Linked DNA regions of Homo sapiens: regions 1, 3 and 4 are each linked to region 2. Evidence: promoter capture Hi-C in 16 types of primary human blood cells and fetal thymus (Javierre and others, 2016). All regions are on one chromosome and are shown on one strand. The core of a region is centred on a gene start or on the middle of the fragment in contact, and the rest is flanking DNA. Distances in the headings are between cores, read along the strand shown. Region 1 overlaps SPACA6 (sperm acrosome associated 6). Region 2 holds the start of CEACAM18 (CEA cell adhesion molecule 18). Region 3 overlaps VSIG10L (V-set and immunoglobulin domain containing 10 like). Region 4 holds the start of IGLON5 (IgLON family member 5).

Region 1 (4,903 bases), core at 478-2,977, 220 kb before region 2:
CTACTCGGGAGGCTGAGGTGACAGGATCACTTGAGGCCAGGAGTTCGAGACAAGCCTGGGCAACATATCCAGACACCATCTCTAAACAAATTTTTATAAATTAGCCAGGTGTGATGGTGTGCTTGTAGTCTTAGCTACTCAGGAAGCTGAAGTGGGAGGATGGTTGAGCCCAGGAGTTCAAGGCTGTAGTGAGCTATGATTGCACCACTGCCCTCCACCCAGCCTGGGCAATAGAGCAAGACCCTGTCTCTAAAAAACAAAGACAGAGAAGGTGGTGCCATCTTATTGTTCCCCTCATCCATCCTGCTGCCTGAAAATTTGTTTTGATGGTTGGAGCTCTAGCAGCCACACGGGACCATGAGGACAAGGGCTACTCCCTGGGATATTAAGTCTTGAAGGAGCTTGGATCCCCAAGAAATGGAGGTGCCATATTAGCCTTAAGTGCCTACCACAAGACTTACTTTATATAGGAGAGCTAAACTTCCTACGGGCTTAAAGCCATTGCAGGGACAGGGGAAAGCGTCCTCTGTGATTAAAGCCATACAAAAAGGGAGGGAACTGAGGATATTGGCAAGAAAGTGCCTAAAACAATGATCACTGGATATACACTTGGAGAGAGGAAGCACTGATGCCCAGAAGTGGGTTCCAAATGAGGACCCAGTGGTCTCTCCTTGGCCACAGAGCAGGAGTGTGGTCTCAAGATGGCAGGATGATCAGGAGCATGTGGTCAGACTGGGGTGCACAAATGAGAGGCCAGGATGTTGGAGGAGTCATCCAAAGAATTTCTATGTGCCAAATCAAATGACTCATGGGCAGGGTGAGCGTGGGATATACCAAGTAAGCCATGGTGGCCGGGTGGGCTTATACTCCACCAGGGGAGTATAAGTGGAGTGAAATGTTCCGAACAGGCCAAGTGGCCTGGGTTATAGCAAGCGGGCCATAAGGCGGCATGGGTGGGTGTTGTAAAGTCTCCCCCAGAGGAGTTGCATATCGTCAGGAGCTCTGACCCTGGTTCAGATCATCTGGGTCTGAGTCCTGGTGCTTCCGTCTTGAGCACACCTGTCTCAGATCTGAGTATCAATCACAAGCCCTCCTCCCCATGCGACCTTGGCCAAGTGACTTCACCTTCCTGATCCTCAGTTTCCTCATTCATCAAATGAGGATGACAGCAGTGTCTGTATCACAGAATTAGCGGGAGGATGAGACGCCATACAACCATGAAAGCATCCTCATCCCCACTCTTCCATGGCATCGTTTAATGATTGTATGAGATGGTGTCACTAAGTGTGTAGAATGGCTCCTAGCACGTAGTGAGTGTTAGAGAAGGCTGGCAAACTTAGGATTGCCATCTCCAAGTTTGAGGTGGGGAAACGGAGGCATGGGGAGATTAGAGAAGTGGTCCAAAATCACATGGCTACATTTGACCCTGGTGGTCAGGCTCCAGAGCCTCCACACCTAATCGCTGCATACATAATCTCCACACCTAATACTGCATCCAGTCTGTACCACGTCATCTACTCCATGGTTTATATATACATATATACAAATAAGATCACCTGGGATCACCAAGAGGCAGTCAGCCTACATCAGCTCCTCCATCTCCCTGCTGCTCCCTCTGGAGGAGACGCAAAAGTCATCCTTGATTCTTCCCATTGCCCTCACCCACCTACATCTGGTCCAGTCTATCTCCAAATATATCCTGGGCCTACTGTTCTTGTCCAGAAGAGCCCAGCGTTCCCTTCTGATAAGCGGGGCTATAAAACCCAGCCTCACAGGGCCGGTAGAGGATATCCTTTAGGAAGATACTTAATATGAATGACTCTGTGTATGGCAAACACAGCCTTTTGCACGCATGGGCAAGCCTGGCACACGGTCAAATCCTTATGCCCACCCCACTCTGCTCAGACCTCATCTGGGCCCCCGGACCACTGTGACTGGTCCAAGCCACCATGGGCCGGCTTCTCACTGGAAGTCTTCCTGCCTTTGTCCAGGCCCCATACAGCTGCCAGAGAGATCTTGTTAAATCCCAGGTCAGATCCTGTCTCTCTGTGTAAAGTCCTCCAACAGCTCCCCCATTTCAAGAGCAAAAAACAAAAGTCATTCCAAGGGCCTACAACAGTGATTCTCAAAGAGTGTTCCCGGAGCAGCAGCATCAGCATTCCCTGGGATCTTGACAGAAACGTCCATGTCTGGGCCCTACCTTGGACCTCCTGGTCAGAGGTGGTGAAGCCCAGAAATCTGCATTTTAAATAAGCTCCCAGGGGATTCTGATGTATGCTGGGGCTTGAGAACCCCCTGTCTATGAGGATCTACAGGAGGTGGCCCCTTGCTATCTCTCTGATTTCACCTTTACTCCAGCCCCACGGGCCCCAGGGTCTTGCACTGGCTATTCCCTGTGGCCTGAAAATCTCTTTCCACAGATTATCTGCATGGCTGTCGCTGTCACTGTCACCTTGCTCAGGTCTTTGCTCAACTGGACCCTGTCATTTCCACCTGCCCTGACCAACCTATTTAAAATTATCACCCAGCCAGGTACGGTAGTTCATGCCTGTAATCCCAGCACTTTGGGAGGCTGAGGTGGGAAGATCACTTGAGCCCAGGAGTTCAAGACCAACCCATGCAACATAACAAGACACCATCATTACAAACTATTTAAAAAATTAGCCAAAGATGGTGGCGCACACCTATAGTCCCAGCTACTTGGGAGGCTGAGGCAGGAAGATCGCTTGAGCCCAGGAGTTTGAAGCTGTAGTGAGGTATAATCACATCACTGCAATCCAGCCTGGGTGACAAAGTGAGACCCTATCTCAAAAAAACAAAAAAACTATCACCCCTTTCTCTTCCCCTTCTCTGTTTTCCTCCATGGCAGGGATCACCAACTGACATACTAAGATACTAAGATATTTTATCGATTATGTTTATTGTCTATCTCCCCAGACTCCACCCCAATATAAGCAACCCGAGGACAGGTGGTTTGCAGTTTTGGTCACAGCGGTTGTTCCTGGCACATTCAGTAAGTATAATTGAACGTATTGCACCAGCTTCTCCCGGCCTCCAGACTCTCCCTCTGGTCCATCTTTGACACGACCCCAGAGGGTTCTTTCTACACCCAGAGCTGCCCCTACTTCTTCACTGCTCACACTCCTGCTGCAGCTCCCCAGCGCCCTGAGGAAAGAGACTCAACACTCTCTGACTTTTCTGCTGAACTCTGCACCTAGGTATCTAGCTGCCTCCTAAACGTCCCTGGGACCCCTCAAAGTCACTGCCTTCTAACCCAGCTTATCATCTGCCCCCGGCTCTTTCTCTCAGGCTCCTTATTTCGGTGATGACCCACCGCCCAACAGGCACAGAGCAGGACCTGTCTCAGATGCTGTTCTCTATGCTTCCCAAAACAGCCCAGCAGACCTAACTCTCTGGCCCTGGCCCTTCTCCACCTTCACGGCCCCAGCCCCCACTCGGGCCTCCGCTCTGGCCTGGACCCTCACCCAGCCTCTTCTCTCTCCCCTCCAAGTTTGTCCCCCATGCGGCCCCACAGAAGGCTTCCATTCCCAGATCCAAAGGTTCCTCATCTTTTCAAAAGCTTCTGTAACAAGGCAGCCTATGTGGGGAGAAAGGGCATTTCTTGGAATCCTGCACACCCCCACATGGAGAGGTTTAGGGCCTCAGGTCTCCCTTTAGGGTGGAGATGGGGAGAGCCACAGCTGAGGCCTTCTCCAGGCTGGCCCTGGATGCCCCCTGGGTGGATGGGAACCTTCCCTCTTCCGGGATTGTTGACAGGACGCTTGGAGGGCAAAGCAGGAAGCAAAAGGAGCGACTGTGGGTGTGGGAATAAGCCCTGAGCTCCTGGACCTAAGAGGAAGCCAGTTTATTCTATAGCGCAGGGCTCTGTAACTCCTGCAACTCCGAGCCTCCACAGTTCCAGGGTCTGGCACCTCGTGGGGATCATGGCCATGGTGATCAGGCATGATTACCGCCCATGCTGCCCATCGGCATTGCGTGGCCCCCAGCCCTGAGGTCTCTTCGCACAGCCACACACCTCAAGGCTGTCACATGTGCCTGTCTCACCAGGACAGTCACACCTTGTCTCTTTTCACTGCTGTCACCTGAGTGATCCACTCTGCTGTTCCTGTTTTCCCGCCCTCTAATTGCCTCACACCTCAAAAATGTGGAATCACTTTATAAGAAATCTGTGTGTGTGTGTGAGTGTGAGTGTATGTCTCTGAGCGTGTCTGTGTGCGAGTGTGTGTGTGTTCTATCCTAGAGGAAGATGCCTTCCCTAAGATCAGGCTCATCAGGCAGCCCCAACCCCTGCACTGAGCTCCATGGCCATCCTAGGAGGCAAGAAGATTGTCCCACTTTACAGATGGGTAAGTTGAGGCCAGGAGAGGGGCAGTGACACACCCAGAACTTCATAGCCAGTAAGAGTGTGAGCCATGCAGCCATGGCAGAACCTATGCCTACCCGACCCCATCTGGACTTCCAGCTCTAGGCAATTTCTGCAGCGTCCCTTCCCCCTCACCACCTTCAGCCCCTGGCTCTTAGAGCTGCCTTCAGCCTTCGTTTGGACAAGTAGCTGAGCTCAATGTCTTCCCAGCTTTCCCCTCCCGGATCACTGCCCAACTCTGGGGGCCTCCTTCCTCTGCCCTGGGCCCTCCCACATACCCATTTCTTAGGGGCTCCAAGTCCACATCTCCCATCTCCCCATCCCCACACACTCACCCTGGGCAGCAGCCAGCTCCTGCAGGGCATGGGTCATCTGGGTGAAGGTGTCATGCAGGTGGCTTCTCTCATCATAGTCTGGCGGTGAGGGAGGGAGCAGGGGCTGGGGGAGGCAGCTCCCCGCAACACCATGTCCCTAATGCGAACATTCTGTTTCTGAGTCTCTGCCCTCCCAAGTCTGTAT
Region 2 (5,625 bases), core at 3,126-5,625:
GCTAACCCCTAGACCTGCCCCAGGCAAGGCAGCTGTGTCAACAACAATAACCATAAGAGCATCTTCTATGATTAAGGAACTACTAGAGGCCAGGCCCATGGTGCCATTTACATTGTAATAAAATTAGTGGAGTAAAAGCCAACACATGGGGCCTACTGTGTGCCAGGCACTGTTCTAAGCTCTGTGCCTGTCCCCACATTTGTTGAATTCCCAGAACAACCCATGTGACTGGTTCCACCATTGATCCATTTTATAGATGGAAAACAATGAGGCTCGGAGGAGAGGATTAGGACTTTATGACTCCAACTGACACAGAAGGATTGAGCCAGTCTCAGGGCCTGGGAGCAACTGCCCTGAGCAGCTGCAGCCTCTGGATCCTGGGTCTTGGTTCCAAGCCTCTGACCTGTAAACAGCTGTATGGAGGTCAGAAATTGTTCACCCCTCAACCCCACCTTCCACAGGATGGGTGCCGTAGCCTGCGCTTTAGGAAATCTGACAGACCGCTGGAGTAGTTCCAGGAGACGTGAAAGTGATTTTAGATGTGTGATTATGGTTTTCAGTTGGAAGATGTGGAAGAGTTTATTAAACTCTGTGAGCAGTCCTGGAATACTGGGGAAAAATCTAAGTGTTAATGTATTTATAAGTTCAGCGTATTCGATTTCCAAGAGCTGTCTGAGAATTTGTGGAGGTCTTCCTGGGTGGTGAACTTGCCCCGGTAGGCAGCTAAAAGGCTATAAAAAAAAAAGAATGTATGGAATGCATAATTGAGTCTTTAAATAAAGCTCTCTGTTTAAGGGAGCATAGCCTGTTCAGTTTCAGTGAAAGAGAGTGACAGGGACTATACTAAATTTAGTAGAAAAGAAGAAAGAAATTAATGAGCAGAATTTCAAGGCTCAAGGGGCTTGAAAACTTAATAATTGAACATCAATTTAAGAAACAATGGTATTCAGTAGTCCCCTCTTTACACAAAAGCAGACCTCAACAAAGGCACACTGACCATTTCTAATCTGAGAAGTGGGGACTGGCGTCTTCATTTCAAACTCGAGTGTACCACGTTTCTGAGTAGCAGGGGCAGCTCCCAAGTTCACAGGGCTCAAGAGCCTGAGCTGATTCCAATCCAGAGTGAGCTGGCTGCAGGCTGGCCCAGGATGCCCCCTCTCTCCAGCTCAGCCTGTCCTAACATATTCCTATCCCTAGAAAGCCCTGAGACCAGCCCTGGCTTCAGTCCCAGGAGCCCAGACCACTCACAGGCCACAGTCAGAGAGATGCGTTCACTTCTCTGAAAGATCTCTGGGAAACTCTCTATCATGCACTGAATTGTTCTGTCATAGCGGCTGACCCTGAGGATGACGAGGGTCTTGCCGTCTGGGGAAATTGTCATCCGGTCACTACTAGAGGTAGGCACATCATTCACATACCACGTGATGTTGGTGACATTTGTGAGGCAGTCAGCAGCCACAGAATCCATGTTCTCCACCAGGGAGCTGGCATTGACGGAGATGCCCAGATTGCTTCCCAACTCTGGGTGAAGCAGGAAAGAGAAAAAAATTACAAGTGGGGTCTGCTTCCCCAAGCTCTGCTCCTCTCCAGGGGACTTCTGGGCATGTTGGAGAGAAGCCAAGAGCTGTAAGATAAGATCTGGCATCCTGGCAAGGGAGCTGAGAAGGGCAGAGGAATAGGCACAGGGCAATGAGGCTGCTGAGGTGTGGGCCTTGCCTGAGCCACTGCCGTGCTGTCTGCTGCCATAATGGTGAGCTCTTGGCATAAACATGTGGCCTAATCATTGTTTCTGATCCTCCAAACCAGGACCCTCATCCAGGAGACACGAGAGGTTCTGAGTGAGAGGTGGCATTTGGCTACACAATACTACTCCATTATTTGAGTCCCATTCACTTTACGAATACTCCCTCCAACGCTACGACAAACCACAATGGTGGGTTCCTCCCCACTCTACAGATGAGGAAACTGAAGAACACAGAAGGAACACAAATGGGCCAGGGTCCTGCAGTATGTATTTGCAGCCACTGTCAAATACAGGACTGCTTGTCTTCCAACTCCGCCCTCTCCTCCCACTAGCCCTCAGATCCCCCAGGAGCTGTCCATGGTACACAAGATTCCAGGGCGGCTCCGTGATTTCCACTCCCGGTGTCATGCTCTGTATAATGTCCTTCTCTCAAATGTGTCACATCTAGCTCTCCTTGGGGGTTGGGAAACACAGCACCTGCTAACCCACCTAGAACCTCCAGCCAGCCGGTTGCTCTTTGGGTCTCATTGCCTGCAACCACCCGAACAGTGTAGTTTCCCGTGTCATTTAATGCAGTCGGCCTGATCAACAGGCTGCCTTCTCTGTTCACTCTCTCCCTGCCAGTGTACATGGGCCCAGGCTGCTGGGCACTGGGCGGTTTGTGGCTGATAATCATGTTTCCTGCGCTGTCGTTTGCACCCCAGTACCAGCTGTATTCCTGAACATCCTCAGGGACCTTATCCAGGGCCACGACAGTCCGATATCCCTTGATCCCCAGGGTTTGGGTGATGAAGATTTGGCCAGAGGCCTGGCAGATCCCACAGGCCAGCAGACTGGCTGAAGAAGACAAGGAAAAAAGACAGAGAGAAATTCACAAAGAGATTCAGACTGGCTGAGAAGACAAGGAAAAAAGACACCATCCGGGAACGATTCCCAGAGACGCTGGTGAACCAGGCAAGAGTTTCTGGCTCCTGGTAGAGTCCCCAGCTTGTCCCCTCCTGTGCCTCCCCTCAGCCCCTGCCGTGGTCCATTTTACCCTTATCTTCTCCCAGGCCCTCCTCGCTAGCCACACAGCCTCCAATCCATCCTCACATCACAGTTACGTAAATGTTAATAAGCCCAAGTTGCGACCCTGTTCTCCTCTGCTCAAACACCTTCCATGGCTCCCCAGTGCTCTTAGGATACAGTCCAAACTCTTAGGTGGGTATATGAAACACTCTCAGCCAGAGCTGGTGTTTGTGACTCATCGAGCCTCCTTGTGGTGCACACCTACCCCATCCTGTCCCCACTATGCACCTTTTACTCATTTATTCCTGTAGTTATTTATCAGAAGACATGACTGCCACGCTGTATGCCCCAGGCCTCTACATAGCTCTCTTGGTGCACCACACCTTCTCCTAACTCCAGGCTTCGCACACGCTGTTCCCCATTCCCGGCAGGGACTCCTTCTCCCTCCTCTCCATCTGCACCCTCCTTGCTGACTCACTTCTATTCATCACTCAGGTCTCAGCTTGGATGTCTCCTCCACCCCAGCCTGGGTCAGGTGTCCCCTCTGGGCTCCCCCAGCTCCTCCTGGGCTCCCCCCATCCCAGCCATGACCTCTGGGGGTCCTCAGAGTCTGGGCACATATCTATATCTCGCCCTGGACTGTGGGCTCCAGGAGGGCAGGACTGCCCTGTCTCAGTCACCACTGAGTCCCCAGCGCCCCTGAGCACAGGCTGGACACAGGGGGAGTTCAGTAATGATTGTCTGGGTGAGAAATACTCCCCCGAGAATTTCTACATGTCTTTGATTTTGCATCTAAATTCACTGGAGTGGGTGTGAATGGAGGCGGCAGCCTGTTACCACATATGACATGGGCAGTTGTCCACTGCCCTGTGAACCCCAAGCCTGGGCTATGTGGAGGAGGCAGAGATGCCTGAGACCCCGGCTCTAGGCCTCACGTATGGACACACTGGACCTGTTCAAGGACAGTACACGTGGTAAAGCAGGACAGTTGTGCTTGTAGGGGGCACAGAAGGTCCTGGGCAAAGGTGAGGGGCTGGGAAGGAATCTGGCCTGAGAGGTGGGGGAGGGGATGGGGCAGATTGGGGCACCCAGTGGGAGGTGAGTGCAGGGAGGTGAGGGTGAAGGTCCAAGCTCCTGATTCCTGGGCGTAGATAGAAACACAGTTTCTCTCTCTCTCTCTCTGTGTGTGCGCGCGTGTGTGTGTGTGCATGTGCGTGTGCGTGTGTGTGTAACACCACATGTGTGGGTCTGTGCAGGGGTGTGTCTAGGGGCAAAGTGTGCCCACGTGTGTGAGCTCATGAAAGTTGTGCTGAGGGTCCTCCCCCTTCTCCTCTCCCCGACCCCTGCTCTGGGAGTTTCTTGATGTGCCCGTGGATGGGGATGGTCCCAGCCCCCTCCCCGCCGCTTTGCTCCTAGCTGCCCTTCCCTCAGTCCTGGGAAGCTCATCCAGCATCCAGCATCTCTTACCCATGAGGAAGACCCTCCTCCACAGGCTCCATCTGGGTCTGGAAAGGTCCATGAGCTGCCTGGGGTCCTCCAGGAGGAGGGGTCCCTCCAGAGACACAGCCACCTCCTCTGCTCCCTCCAAGACCTGTGTCTCCTGGCACAGAGGCTGCCGGTCTCGTCTCCCAGCCTTCAGGGCGGCCTTTCCTCCCCAGGGTGCACTCTGACCAGCAGGGGTGGGGCCTGGGGAAGACGGCTCTTGAGAGCCCAACCTTATCTTTATGGCTTTATGTTGCCTTTAGTTCATTATTTATTTACTTATTTTTATAATAATTTACATTTTTTTCTCTGGTCATGAAAAAACGGAAAAACACAGGCTCACTGTTGGGAAAACAAAGAAAACCAGAAAATACAGCCAAGTGCCTCAAAGATAGGACATCAAACTCCTCAACTGTATGTCCTGTTTCCATTTGGTTTGGTTTTCCTATGCAGGGCCCAGCTTTTTTTTTTTTTTTTTTTTTTTCACGGAGTCTCGCTCTGTCACCAGGCTGGAGTGCAATGGCATGATCTTGGCTCACCGCAACCTCGTCTTCCGGGTCCAAGTGATTCACCTGCCTCAGCCTCCCGAGTAGCTGGGACTACAGGCTCGTGCCACCACACCCAGCTAATTTTTGTGTTTTTAGTAGAGACGGGGTTACATCATGCTGGCCAGGATGGTCTTGATCTCTTGACCTCGTTATCCGCCCACCTCGGCCTCCCAAAGTGCTGAGATTACAGGTGTGAGCCACCGTGCCCGGTGTAGGGCCCAACTTTTAGACTGCCTGGGGCTGTTTTACAACTGGCTGCTTTCCTCCTCAACAGTGGACTATTTCTCTATGTCACTAAATATTCCTCCCATGACCATTGTGAATGGCTGCAGGGAATGCTCTTCTAGACCTGAACCAGTGTGTGTATAACCAGATCCCTTTGTGAAAGTGCTCACAAGCCAAAAAAATCCCTGAGAAATACAGTGGGGAAGGCTGTGAAGCGAGGGCTCTCTGACAACAAAAATTTTCACAGAAGACGCTGCAGAAACCATAGTCTTGCACAAAAGCCATTGCTTCCTTCCACCAAAAAAATACTTCTGTGACAAGTATTTGGACAGCAACCTCCGGTCCAAACTTGGACTGACGTCACCCTCATTAGGGATCCTTGTAGCCTAGGGTAATTATCTCAAACCATTTATGGGGTCCTCCTCATTTTTCCATTGAAAACCCTTTGTGTTCTTTTACCTCCCTGAATATGCACGTAGTTTACTATAGCACCCAGATTCCCATTGCAATGCCCCATTCCTGAATACATATCATTTTCTTTTAGAGAGCTTCTCTCTGTTTGTTATTTAGGTTGACACTTTGTTGTTGGAGGGTCAGGCTGTTTCTAAAAACAGGGAT
Region 3 (5,341 bases), core at 1,699-4,198, 150 kb after region 2:
GGACTTCAACATATGTTTTTCTTTTGGGGTAGGCACAATTCAGTTGATAACATGCCTCCATTGGAGCATCTCAGGATTTAGTCCTCACTCCCCAAAGTGATCATGTTCATGCTCATGGCCTTCAATAACATTAATAATCAGATGACTCCCAAATGTCTTATCCTGGGCCCTGACTTCTCTCTTGAAAAGGATGCGCCCAACTTAAGATCTTCACTTTTTGGGGAGGTGGGGGGTGTGGACAGAGTGTTGCTCTGTCACCCAGGCTGGAGTGCAGTGGCATGATCTCAGCTAACTGGAACCTCCACCTCCTGGGTTCAAGTGATTCTCCTGCCTCAGCCTCCAGAGTAGCTGGGATTACAGGTGTGAGCCACCACGCCCAGCTAATTTTTTTTGAATTTTTAGCAGAGACAGGATTTTGCCATGTTGGCCAGGCTGGTCTTGAGCTCCTGACCTCAAGTGATCTGCCTGCCTCGGCCTCCCAAAGTGCTGGGATTACAGGCGTGAGTCAAGATCTTCACTTTGGATGTCCAATTAGCATCCCAAATGTCATATGCCCAAAACAGATCTTTCGATGTTTTCCCTCAAAACTGCATCCTCCAACCCTGCAGTCTTCCCCATCCTCATAAATGTCACCACTTACAGGCCACATCACCCCTGACATCCTAATTGCCAGCAAGTTCGGTCCATTTTCCTTCTAAAATATTTTCCATCTTCACCCCAAGGCTCTGGTCAAACACAGCATCCTCTCTTGCCTGGACTGCAACAGCAGTTTATTTGGTCTCTTTATACTCCCTCTTGCTGTCAGATAATGCATTCTCCACACAGAAGCCAAAGTTATGCAAATCAGATCATGAGGCTGCTCTACATAAAAGCCGTCCATTAATTTCTGCAGGACCCCTTTAGGATCTGGTTCCTGGAAACCTTTTCTACTTCACTCTCCACCTCCAGCCCGCTCCTTCCTTATCCTCCACCCACGCTGGCCTTCGTTGAACAGAGAAAGCTTTTCTAGTTCTGGGCCTTTGCATTTACTGTTCCCTCCTCTTGGAACGCCCTTTCCCCGGGTTTAGTATGACTGTCTCTGGTCTTTATTCTTCAAGTCTCTGTTCAAACGTTACTTCCTCAGGGACCTGAGCTCACCACTGTTTCTAAATGTCACATCCCTTCCCATTGTTCCTTTTTTGTTTTTTGTTTGTTTGTTTTCTTTTTTTGAGAGAAGGTCTCACTTTGATGCCCAGGCTGGAGTGCAGTGGCACGATCTGGGCTCACTGCAGCCTCAACGTCCCCAGACTCAGGTGATCTTGCCTCAGTCTCCTGAGTAGCTGGGGCTACAGGCGCAGCCACCGCACCTGGCTAGTTTTTCTATTTTTTGTAGAGACAGGATCTCGCTATGTTGCCCAGGCTGGTCTCCAACTCCTGGGCTCAAGTGGTTGCCCACCTTGACCTCCCAAAGTGTTGGGAATCACAGGTGTGAGCCACCACACCTGTCCCCCATTATCTCTATCACATCACTTTTTCTTTCTCGGGACAATCTGTGATTATCTTATGTATTGCTCATTTATTTATGTCTTCTCTCCTAGAATTAAGCCCCATAAGGGTAGATATCTTTCCTGTTTGGCCCACGAATGAATCCTCACTACCTGTCTGAGAGCCAGGCACACCACGGTCACTCAGTAACTGTTAAATGAGTTGAGAGTGCTGGGGTCCCACATTCCTGGGTTCTGGGAGGGGAGGGACAGTGGGGGCCGGACTCCTGGGTCCCAGCACAAAGTTAGGGGGCTTAGGAAACTTGGGTCCAACCTTGGTTCCTGTTCCCCTTCTCTTTCTTCTCTTTGTCTCTTCCAGGCCCCACGTTGAGCCATGGGGCCATCGCTGGCATCGTCCTGGGCTCCCTGCTGGGCCTGGCGCTGCTAGCCGTACTTCTCCTCCTTTGCATCTGCTGCCTGTGCCGCTTTCGTGGTGAGCAAGGGGACTGGGGAAGGGGCAACCATGACCAACGGGGAGGGACCCTAGAAAGAGGCCTATGGAAGACCTGGCTGAGGCAATCAGTGCCGTCATAGGTCATCCATCCTGCCCTCCTACCTCCAAATCAGCCAATCAGCATAAGGCTCCGCCTCTCCAACCAGCTTCCCTTGCTATTGGCTGGGTTGGCATGTTGGGGCAGCCAATCACGTGTTCCTGCTTCTCTTCTGCCTCTCAATCAGGAAAGACTCCTGAGAAAAAGAAGCATCCTTCTACCTTGGTCCCCGTGGTCACCCCCTCAGAAAAGAAGATGCATAGTGTGACCCCAGTGGAGATTTCATGGCCTCTGGACCTCAAAGTCCCTCTGGAGGACCACAGCTCAACTAGGGCCTACCAAGTGAGTGTGGGTGCCCTCATTTCCTCCTGGAATCGGGGCGGAACTTCTTGTATTACAGTCAGGGAGATGAGAGGGTCTCAATTATCTAACTCCAGTTTTACTTGTTAGTTTACAGTCTGTATAACTTTATCCTTTTTAAAAATGCATCAAAGTTGGACAGAGCTTCCCGCCCAACTTTGATGTATATTAAAATAAGAGTGAATTCCAGTTTCTTCTCCAAAGGAGGGAAATAGGATCTCTCTCTCTCTTTTTTTTTTTTTTGGAGACAGAGTCTCACTTTGTTGCCCAGGTTGGACTGCAGTGGTGCAATCTCGACTCACTGCAGCCTCCGCCTCCTGGGTTCAAGCGATTTTCCTGCCTCAGCCACTTGAGTAGCTGGGATTACAGGCAAGCACCACAACGCCTGACTGATTTTTGTATTTTTAGTACAGACGGGATTTCACCATGTTAGGCAGGCTGGTCCCGAACTCCTAACCTCAAGTGATCCGCCCACCTTGGCCTCCCAAAGTGCTGGGATTACAGGCATGAGCCACTACGCCCAGCCCCTCCATTTTTCTTTCCCATAAAAATTGGGCAAGGCCCATTTTTCTCTATGAAGTGGGGTACAGTTACCTCATTCCCCATAAAAGAAGGATTGTTGTGACTGGGTGTGATAGTTCATGCCTGTAATCCCAGCACTTCGGGTGGTTGAGGAGAGAGAATCACTTGAGCTCAGGAGTTCGATACCAGCTTGGGCAACATAGGGATACCCCATCTCTACAAAAAATTTTAAAATTAGTCGGGCATGGTGGCACGTACCTGTAGTCCCAGCTACTAGGGAGGCTGAGGTGGGAGGATTGCTTGGGCCTGGGAGGTCAAGGCTGCAGTGAGCTCTAACGGTGCCACTGTACTCTAGCCTGGATGACAGAGTGAGACCCTGTCTCAAAATAAATAAATAAATAAATAAATAAAAAATAACAACTGGGTTGGGTTGTTGGCTGGCTTCGCTCCACCAAGGATAGCCAGGCATTTTTTTTCCCCTCTCCAAATGGAGGGTTCCCAGATAATCTCTAAAAAGTTCAAGCAAGAGCTAGAAAAAGTTAGGCGGGTGAGTTATGTCACATCCAGAGTACCTACTGAGTTCTCCCCTCACCCCACCTCTCTCTTCCAGGCACAGACCCCAGTTCAGTTGTCTCTGTAGGCGGAGGCTCAAAGACTGTTCGCGCAGCCACACAGGTGTGATCAGAGCCAGTGGTCTGCCCTGCACAGGGCGTTTTGGGCCAGAACTTCCTATTTCACTCCAGCAGCAGCCAGGGCCTGCTATGACTGAGGGTTGGACCCTGAAAGTGGGACTTTCTGTCTCCCTCTCTTGCTGCAGAAGAAGAGTCTTCCTGTATTTGTGCAAGTAAGGAGATGTGACTTCTTGGCTGGGAAACTCTTGCTGATCTAACTGTGTGGTTTGCACAACCTCCAAGCCTCTGCAGCAGACAGGCAGGGCTTGCTGTGTTGCTCTGAGCTAGAGAGGGAGCTTGGCCATGTTCTCTGAAAAGGTCCCCTTACATTCACTTTGCCACCTGTAGGCCACACCCCATCCAGCTCCCAGCATCTTCATCTTAAAACAGATCAGATCATGTCACTCTTCTCTTTAAACGCTTCTACGGCCTGTGCATTTCCCTTCAGATATTATCCAAACTCATCGTCGTGACCTTCAAAACCTTGTGGTCTGGCCTCTGTTGGCCTCCCTGACCTCCCCTCCCAATTCTTTCTCTGCCCCCGGACTCCAGTATCACAGTCTGTCTCTCAGCCACAATTTATTTTGCCCCTAGAGTTTGCTGTGCTTATAACACTTCTTTTTCCCATATGTCATTCATTTCTCAAGTCTAAGAGTAGCAGTTACCATCTTAGACGACCGTTCCCTTACCCCTCCCTTAGTCTTGGGTTAAGTCCCAGAATCCTTGAATTTGCCGTTCCTGATACATAAATATGTAATTTCTTGTGTGGCCTGAGACTCTCTCTCTAAACTAAGGGCTTTACAAAAGCAGAGACCACATCATTAACTCAGCACTTAACCCAGAGCCTCACACACAGCAGGCAATCAATAAATATTTGTTGACTGATCAAATGTTTTGGTGCCAGTGAAGAGTTGGGCTTGCTGCTGCTGTCTTCAGCGTAAGTCTTGCTTTTTCAGCTGGGTTTCTAATTGAGAATTTAGAGAGTGCATTGGTGAGGATTCTTTTGACTGCAAGTAACAAAATAAAATGGTGGCAAGAACTATGGAGGCGGCTGGTTTCAGGCTGGCTCAGCAGCTCAGTAACGCCATTAAAGACATGGGCCCTTTGCATCCATCTGCTCTGCCACCCTCAGTGGGTTGGCACATTGACTCTAAGCATGTTGCTTCACGTAGCAAGATGGTTGCTGCAGCTCCAGTCATCACATCTTCACACAACTGTATCCAAAGATAAAAGGAAGGGGGCAGAACTTCCTCCCTATACATCTTCCCCACCCTCTACCTCCCTCTATCACTGCCTTCTTCCCTCTCATGGGGTGGGAGGGAAGCTTTCCTGGAAACCTACAAGCAAATTTCCATTTATGTCTCTTTGGCCCAAACTGGCCACATAGCTGCAAAGGAGGCTAGGAAACCAGATATCTAGCCTGTATCATAACACGTGGATCTGCCAGCGAAGAAGAAAGGGGAACCAAACAACTCAAATGTGGGCAACCAGCATCTGTCTCAGGGAAGGAAAGCATGTGAGAGAATTTCTGGTTAATGATTGGGGGTAGAAAAGGCCATTGGAAAATAGAACCCCTGGATCCTTTTGGAAAGGTGAGGGTTGGGGTTCTGGGCCTTCTATGTCTCTTCTGTATCTATTATGGTTTTCATTCTCTTTTTTATTACTAGAGATAGAAAATCCAATGCAAATTGGTTTAAATATACAGGGGACTTTATTGCTTATATAAGTGAAAATGGGCATCAGTTAAGTTTTGATCCAGCTGCTCAAATGATAT
Region 4 (5,615 bases), core at 751-3,250, 170 kb after region 2:
GAGAGAGAGAGAAAAAGAGAAAGAAGGAAAGAAAGAAAGAAGGAAAGAGAAAGAAGGAAAGAGAAAGAAAAAAGAGAAAGGTAGGTCAGAACAAGAAGGAAATGAATGAGAGAAGGAAATGAGAGAAGTTAATGAAGATTAAGGCATAAGTGAGGAAGCAAGCAAGTATCAAGAGACTGAGTCATGCAATGGGCAACAGTCTGAAAAGCAGAGACAGACAGATGTGGAACTGTGCTGTCAGCAGCAGGGATGGAGAGACAATGACCCAGAGACAGAGGCAGGTGGAAAGTCAGCAGTGGATAACAGAGATGGGAAGGGATGGGAACCTCCAGAAATGGCAGGGACACAAAGACCTAAAGAGATGCATGACAGAGACAGAGACAGGTGGTCAGAAAGTCAGAGGGCGATTCAGACTGGTCAGGTGGGAGACGGGGGAGGACTAGCAAGGGACTGAGGCTGTGGCCCACCAGGTCCCTGCGTCCTGCGTGGATGGGGCTGTGTTTGTGTGACTGGTGTCTGCAGGTGCTGCTTCGGGTGGGACGCTGTGACGGGGTTTCTGTGCCAGACTTGGTCTATGCGGGCGGCCTCTCTGAGACTCTTGGGGACTCTGTCGGGGTTCTTGGTTGTCCCTGGAACTCTTTGTTCAGGGGAGGGCCTGGGGGAATCCTCCAGAAAGTCTGAATTAACCCAGCTCCCTGCCCTCCTGAGCGCCCACCCTCCAGCCTCCTGCCTCCTTGCACTCTCCTCCCTTTTCTTAGGGGGAAATCTAGGAATCTCCTTGACCACCCCCTGCCTGCCAGGCCCTACTGGGGAGACTCAAGGTCCAGCTATCTAACCTCAGTGCAGAAACCTGCCCCTGGCCCTCTCCCCAACTGGGAGGGCCGGGCCGGGCCGGGGTTAACCCTTCAACCTGCTTTAACCCTTCCCTTCCGTCTTTCCTTCATCCTCCCATGCCCATCGCTCTTCCACTGTCCAGCCCCACGAACCTAGACATTCAATCAGAGCTTGGGAATCCAAGACCCCAGCCCAGCACCCCAACTTCCTGTATCTCCAGCTCCCTTCTCCCCCACATAACTGCAACCTCCCCAAGTACCAACACTTTCTCTCAACCTAGATGACCCTGCTGGGGGATTTCAGACCCTTCCCCTCTTTTCCTGACCCTGGGACTAGGTCTGTGGACACCCTTGTCCCCTCCTCTTACTGACCCTGGGAAGGCATCCATCCCCTGACCTCTGTCCCGAGATGACTACCCCAGCCCCCGGCAAGGACCTCTTCAGGGACCCTCTCCACGTACAGATGAAGACCCCTAACAGGGCATTATCCCCTGCCCCCCACCCCAACTCAGTTCGGAGATCCGACCCGGGGACCCCGAGTCCAGTGTCTGCCCCCTCCTCAACAGGAGCCGCAGACTCCTGCCCCCAGGCAGGGCTAGGTGTCTGCGACCCTCTTGCCTGCTCGGGGAAGCAGACCTCCGCCCCTAGACCCGGCTCCGGCCCGAGGACGCCGACCCCTGCCCCGGGGCGCGGACCCCCACGTCCGAGGTCCCCCTGCCCAGCCAGGGAATGCAGACCCCACCCCCGGGCCCAGACCCCGGCGTCCCGGGGCCTCCCCGCGCCGGCCCAGGGATGCAGCCCTCGACCCCCACCCCTGATCCCCCGATTACCCACCCAAGACCCTGGCGTCCCGGCCGAGCCCCCCGCCCCCGGCGCTGCGGTACCTCGGCTGATGACGGCCAAGCCGGCCAGGGCGGCGGCGGCGAGAAGCCGGAGCCGGGCCCCGGGCGCAGGGGGGGGCATCGCGGCAGAGGCGGCGCGGAGGGGGAGGGGAAAGGGGGGGCCGGTCCGGGGCGCGCGAGGCCTGGGGGGAGAGGGGGGAGGGGGAGGGGGACCCCGCCTGCGCTGCACCGGCCCGGGGGGCGGCGGGGGCGGGGGGAGGGGGCTGGGGGGGCGCGACGAGGCGGCTGGAGCTGCTGCAGACCCGGGGAGGGGGGCGGCGCTGACGGGCAGGGAGACCGGCCAATCAGGAGAGGTGGGGGGCCGGGGAGGCGGGGTCAAGGGGGGGTTGCTTGTTGGAGGGAGAGGCCTTTGTTACTGCGGCCCGGCCCCTACCCCTCCCGCCCCAGGCGTCCCCACGTCTTTCCACCACATCCGCAGAACACGGAGTCTGGGATACTTCCTAAAACCCAGCTCCCTCCTCCTTCAAGTCCCAATCTCATCCTCCCATGGACCTAGGAGACTAGCCCCAGTCCCTCCTCTCTCAGACCCAGGAGCCCAGGTCCCCAGCCCCTCCTCCCTCAGACCCTGGAGTCCAGGCCCCCAGCCCCTCCTCCCTCAGACCCAGGAGTCCAGGCCCCCAGCCCCTCCTCCCTCAGACCCAGGAGTCCAGGCCCCCAGCCCCTCCTCCCTCAGCCCAGGAGTCCAGGCCCCCAGCCCCTCCTCCCTCAGACCCAGGAGTCCAGGCCCAGCCCCTCCTCTCTCAGACCCTGGAGCCCAGGCCCCCAGCCCCTCCTCCCTCAGACCCAGGAGTCCAGGCCCCCAGCCCCTCCTCCCTCAGACCCTGGAGCCCAGGCCCCCAGCCCCTCCTCCCTCAGACCCAGGAGTCCAGGCCCCCAGCCCCTCCTCCCTCAGACCCAGGAGTCCAGGCCCCCAGCCCCTCCTCCCTCAGACCCTGGAGCCCAGGCCCCCAGCCCCTCCTCCCTCAGACCCAGGAGTCCAGGCCCCCAGCCCCTCCTCCCTCAGACCCAGGAGTCCAGGCCCCCAGCCCCTCCTCCCTCAGACCCTGGAGCCCAGGCCCCCAGCCCCTCGTCCCTCAGACCCAGGAGTCCAGGCCCCCAGCCCCTCCTCCCTCAGACCCAGGAGTCCAGGCCCCCAGCTCCTCCTCCCTCAGACCCTGGAGTCCAGGCCCCCAGCCCCTCCTCCCTCAGAGCCAGGAGTCCAGGTCCCCAGCCCCTCCTCCCTCAGGCCCAGGAGTCCAGGTCCCCAGTTCCTCCTCCCTCAGACCTAGGAGTCCAGGCCCCCAGCCCCTCCTCCCTCAGACCCAGGAGTCCAGGTCCCCAGTCCCTCCTCCCTCAGACCCTGGAGTCCAGGCCCCCAGCCCCTCCTCCCTCAGACCCTGGAGTCCAGGCCCCCAGCCCCTCCTCCCTCAGACCCAGGAGTCCAGGCCCCCAGCCCCTCCTCCCTCAGACCCAGGAGTCCAGGCCCCCAGCCCCCTCCTCCCTCAGACCCAGGAGGCCAGGCCCCCAGGCCCCTCTTCCTGTGGGCCACAGTTCAGCTTTTCCATCTATTTTCATGGATAACGAAAACACTGACTTTTGGAGTGAAATTTGCTTTTTTCCTCCACCCCAACCCTCATCCCCAGTATAATAAGGCAATGGGAAGGGATTGGGGGACTTATCTTGGGGGAGCAGGTGGGGAGGAAACCATAATCCAGGGTTTAGGTGCAAAACATCCTGGCTCCCTGTTCTTTCACTGACTTGGCTGTGTGACCTTGGACAAGCCATTTCTCTTCCCAGAACCTCAGCGTCTTCCCCTGCAAGGTGGAAAATTCCCTATTGCCCAAGGTTATTGAGAAGAATGAGAGATCTTGGAGCAGCTCCTGGCTCCAGCCAGCACCTCAAAAACCTGTAGTGAGTTTCTCCCTCCCCTTTCCACTTTGCATCTGTTTACTAGGTGTATTCCACCCTCCTGTTCCCGTCCCCTTGGCATACGCAGGAGCAAAATAATCTCTGAGTCTACGTTATTTCTGTAGCAGTTCAAGGCAGGAGCTTTTGAAGTTACCCAGTAGGGGCTGTTCTGCCTCAGAAACATATCCATCCTCAATTCCTTCCCCCTCCACTCACATCCAATTTGTCTGCAAGAACCGCTGGCTCTGTCTCCAAAACAAATCTCTGCTTTGTCCTTTTCTTACTCTCCCATCCTGGTCTGAGCTTTCACCACCTCTCCCTGTAGGACTCTGGCTGTAGCAGCCTATGCTCTACTCTCTTGGCCTCTACCTTTGCCTCCACCTTCAGAACAACCACCACTAAACACCTGGACCAGCTAGGGCCACTCCCTGCCTCAATCACTCAGCTCGCTGTGACCTTCTTTCCATTCCTTAAACAAACCGAACAATTCCAGCCCCAGGGTCTTTGTACTTGCCGTTCTTTCGCTGGAATGCTCTTCCTACCACACTGGCAGATGACTCTTTCTTATTTAAGGCTCATCTTCTCCCCTTTAAGAAGCCTTCATTGATCATAGTTTCCAAAGTAGCTGCTACTCCCAGCACAATAACTCTACGTCATACCTCTTCATAGCACTAACAATGTTCTTTTGCCTTTTCCTTTTCTTTTCTTTCTTTCTTTCTTTCTTTCTTTTTTTTTTGACAGAGTTTTGCTCTTCTTGCCCAGGCTAGAGTGCAATGGTATGATCTTGGCTCACCACAACCTCTAACTCCTGGGTTCAAGTGATTCTCCTGCCTCAGCCTCCTGAGCAGCTGGGATCACAGGCATGCACCATCACAGTCGGCTCGTTTTGTATTTTTAATAGAGATGGGGTTTCTCCATGCTAGTCAGGCTGGTCTTCAACTCCTGATCTCAGGCGATCTGCCCGCCTCGGCCTCTTAAAGTGCTGGGATTACAGGTGTGAGCCACTGCGCCCGGCCGATTTCCTTCTTTCACTGTTATTTTTAGTTGCTCTCCCCCTACTCCCACTTCCAGAATGTAAGCTTCACGGAGTTTTTTGTTTTTGTTTTGGTCTGCTTTTGTTCAAGGCTGGATTTCCAGAGCCCAACCTAGTGACTGACATGTAGTACGTACTCAAATAAATACGTACTGCATGAGTGAGTCGGATGGCTTAGCTCCGTTTGGAGAGATGGAGGGAAGTAAGATACAGAGGGAGGAAGAGACCTGCCTGCGTTCACAAAACTGGGTGATGCAAAAGTTAATGGTGTTCTGCAGGTGGCTTGCACTGGCTCAAAAGAGCTGATTATTAAATTTTCAGAAATTGTGCAAGCCAGGTGTTAAACCATTATTAGCTTGAAACTGGCCATGTTGGGAGGATTTACACCACAGCAATGGTGAACACTGAATCAGCTTGCCAGCCCACCACTCTACAAAATCCATTGTGATCCTGGTGAAAGGCCATTTATTGATCCTCTTTGAATTCCGGACCGTTCAGACTTAGGATGAGAACAGGAGCTCCCTCTTCCTGAAATGGCCCATCCCATGCCTGATAAAATATGAGTGCTTACTCGGTGTAGGGATCTTTCTAAGCACTTTGTACATATTATCTCCTTGAAGCATCATGACACCCTTCTGAGGCAGCACTTATCTTTATCCCTATTTCACAGGTGAGGACAAAGAGACATGGAGAATTTTTTACATCCCAAGAGCTATAAATGTGTGATACTGTGAAATATATATTTGGTCTTCATAACACCCCCGCTACGTCCACTGGCAAGCCCCAGGTAGCTTCAGTATGGGGGTTGGTCACAGGAAAGAACAAGGCATGATTAAAAGGTTGGGACTTTCAGCTCATCTCCCAGCCTCTGTGGAAGGGAGAGGGAGTGAAAGTTAAGTGGAGCACCAATGGGCAATGATTTAATCAATCATGCGTATGTAATGAATGTTCCATTAAAAA

Evidence for each region. Contacts are between HindIII fragments. The CHiCAGO score rates a contact against its expected background, and 5 or more counts as called.
Region 1: a contact is called between a fragment that was not itself captured here and the fragment with the promoter of CEACAM18 in region 2, in 5 of 17 cell types (monocytes, total B cells, neutrophils and 2 more). The highest score is 8.2, in monocytes.
Region 3: a fragment that was not itself captured here is called in contact with the fragment with the promoter of CEACAM18 in region 2 in 5 of 17 cell types (naive B cells, activated CD4 T cells, total B cells and 2 more); the score reaches 8.2 in naive B cells.
Region 4: the fragment with the promoter of IGLON5 here is called in contact with the fragment with the promoter of CEACAM18 in region 2 in 7 of 17 cell types (fetal thymus, activated CD4 T cells, total CD4 T cells and 4 more); the score reaches 7.3 in fetal thymus.

What each region holds. Positions count from the first base shown.
Region 1 is chr19:51,694,372-51,699,274 of GRCh38, reverse strand. SPACA6 (sperm acrosome associated 6) reads right to left here. Exons shown (of 9, transcript NM_001316972.2): 2 at 4,720-4,797. Among named protein-coding and RNA genes, the nearest start is that of SPACA6-AS1, 3.4 kb to the right of the region's middle. The HindIII fragment of the contact is 3,711 bases long and covers 1-3,582 here.
Region 2 is chr19:51,477,289-51,482,913 of GRCh38, reverse strand. CEACAM18 (CEA cell adhesion molecule 18) reads right to left here and starts at 4,375. Exons shown (of 6, transcript NM_001405061.1): 1 at 4,220-4,375; 2 at 2,234-2,581; 3 at 1,249-1,521. The coding sequence starts at 4,271. The HindIII fragment of the contact is 9,749 bases long and covers 1-5,625 here.
Region 3 is chr19:51,330,806-51,336,146 of GRCh38, reverse strand. It overlaps VSIG10L (V-set and immunoglobulin domain containing 10 like), which reads left to right. Exons shown (of 10, transcript NM_001163922.3): 8 at 1,843-1,956; 9 at 2,202-2,356; 10 at 3,507-4,606. The coding sequence ends at 3,536. IGLON5 (IgLON family member 5) reads right to left here. Exons shown (of 8, transcript NM_001101372.3): 8 at 5,256-5,341. Among named protein-coding and RNA genes, the nearest start is that of VSIG10L-AS1, 6.5 kb to the left of the region's middle. The HindIII fragment of the contact is 3,891 bases long and covers 1,003-4,893 here.
Region 4 is chr19:51,308,029-51,313,643 of GRCh38, reverse strand. It overlaps IGLON5 (IgLON family member 5), which reads right to left and starts at 2,000. Exons shown (of 8, transcript NM_001101372.3): 1 at 1,718-2,000. The coding sequence starts at 1,796. The HindIII fragment of the contact is 5,776 bases long and covers 1-4,703 here.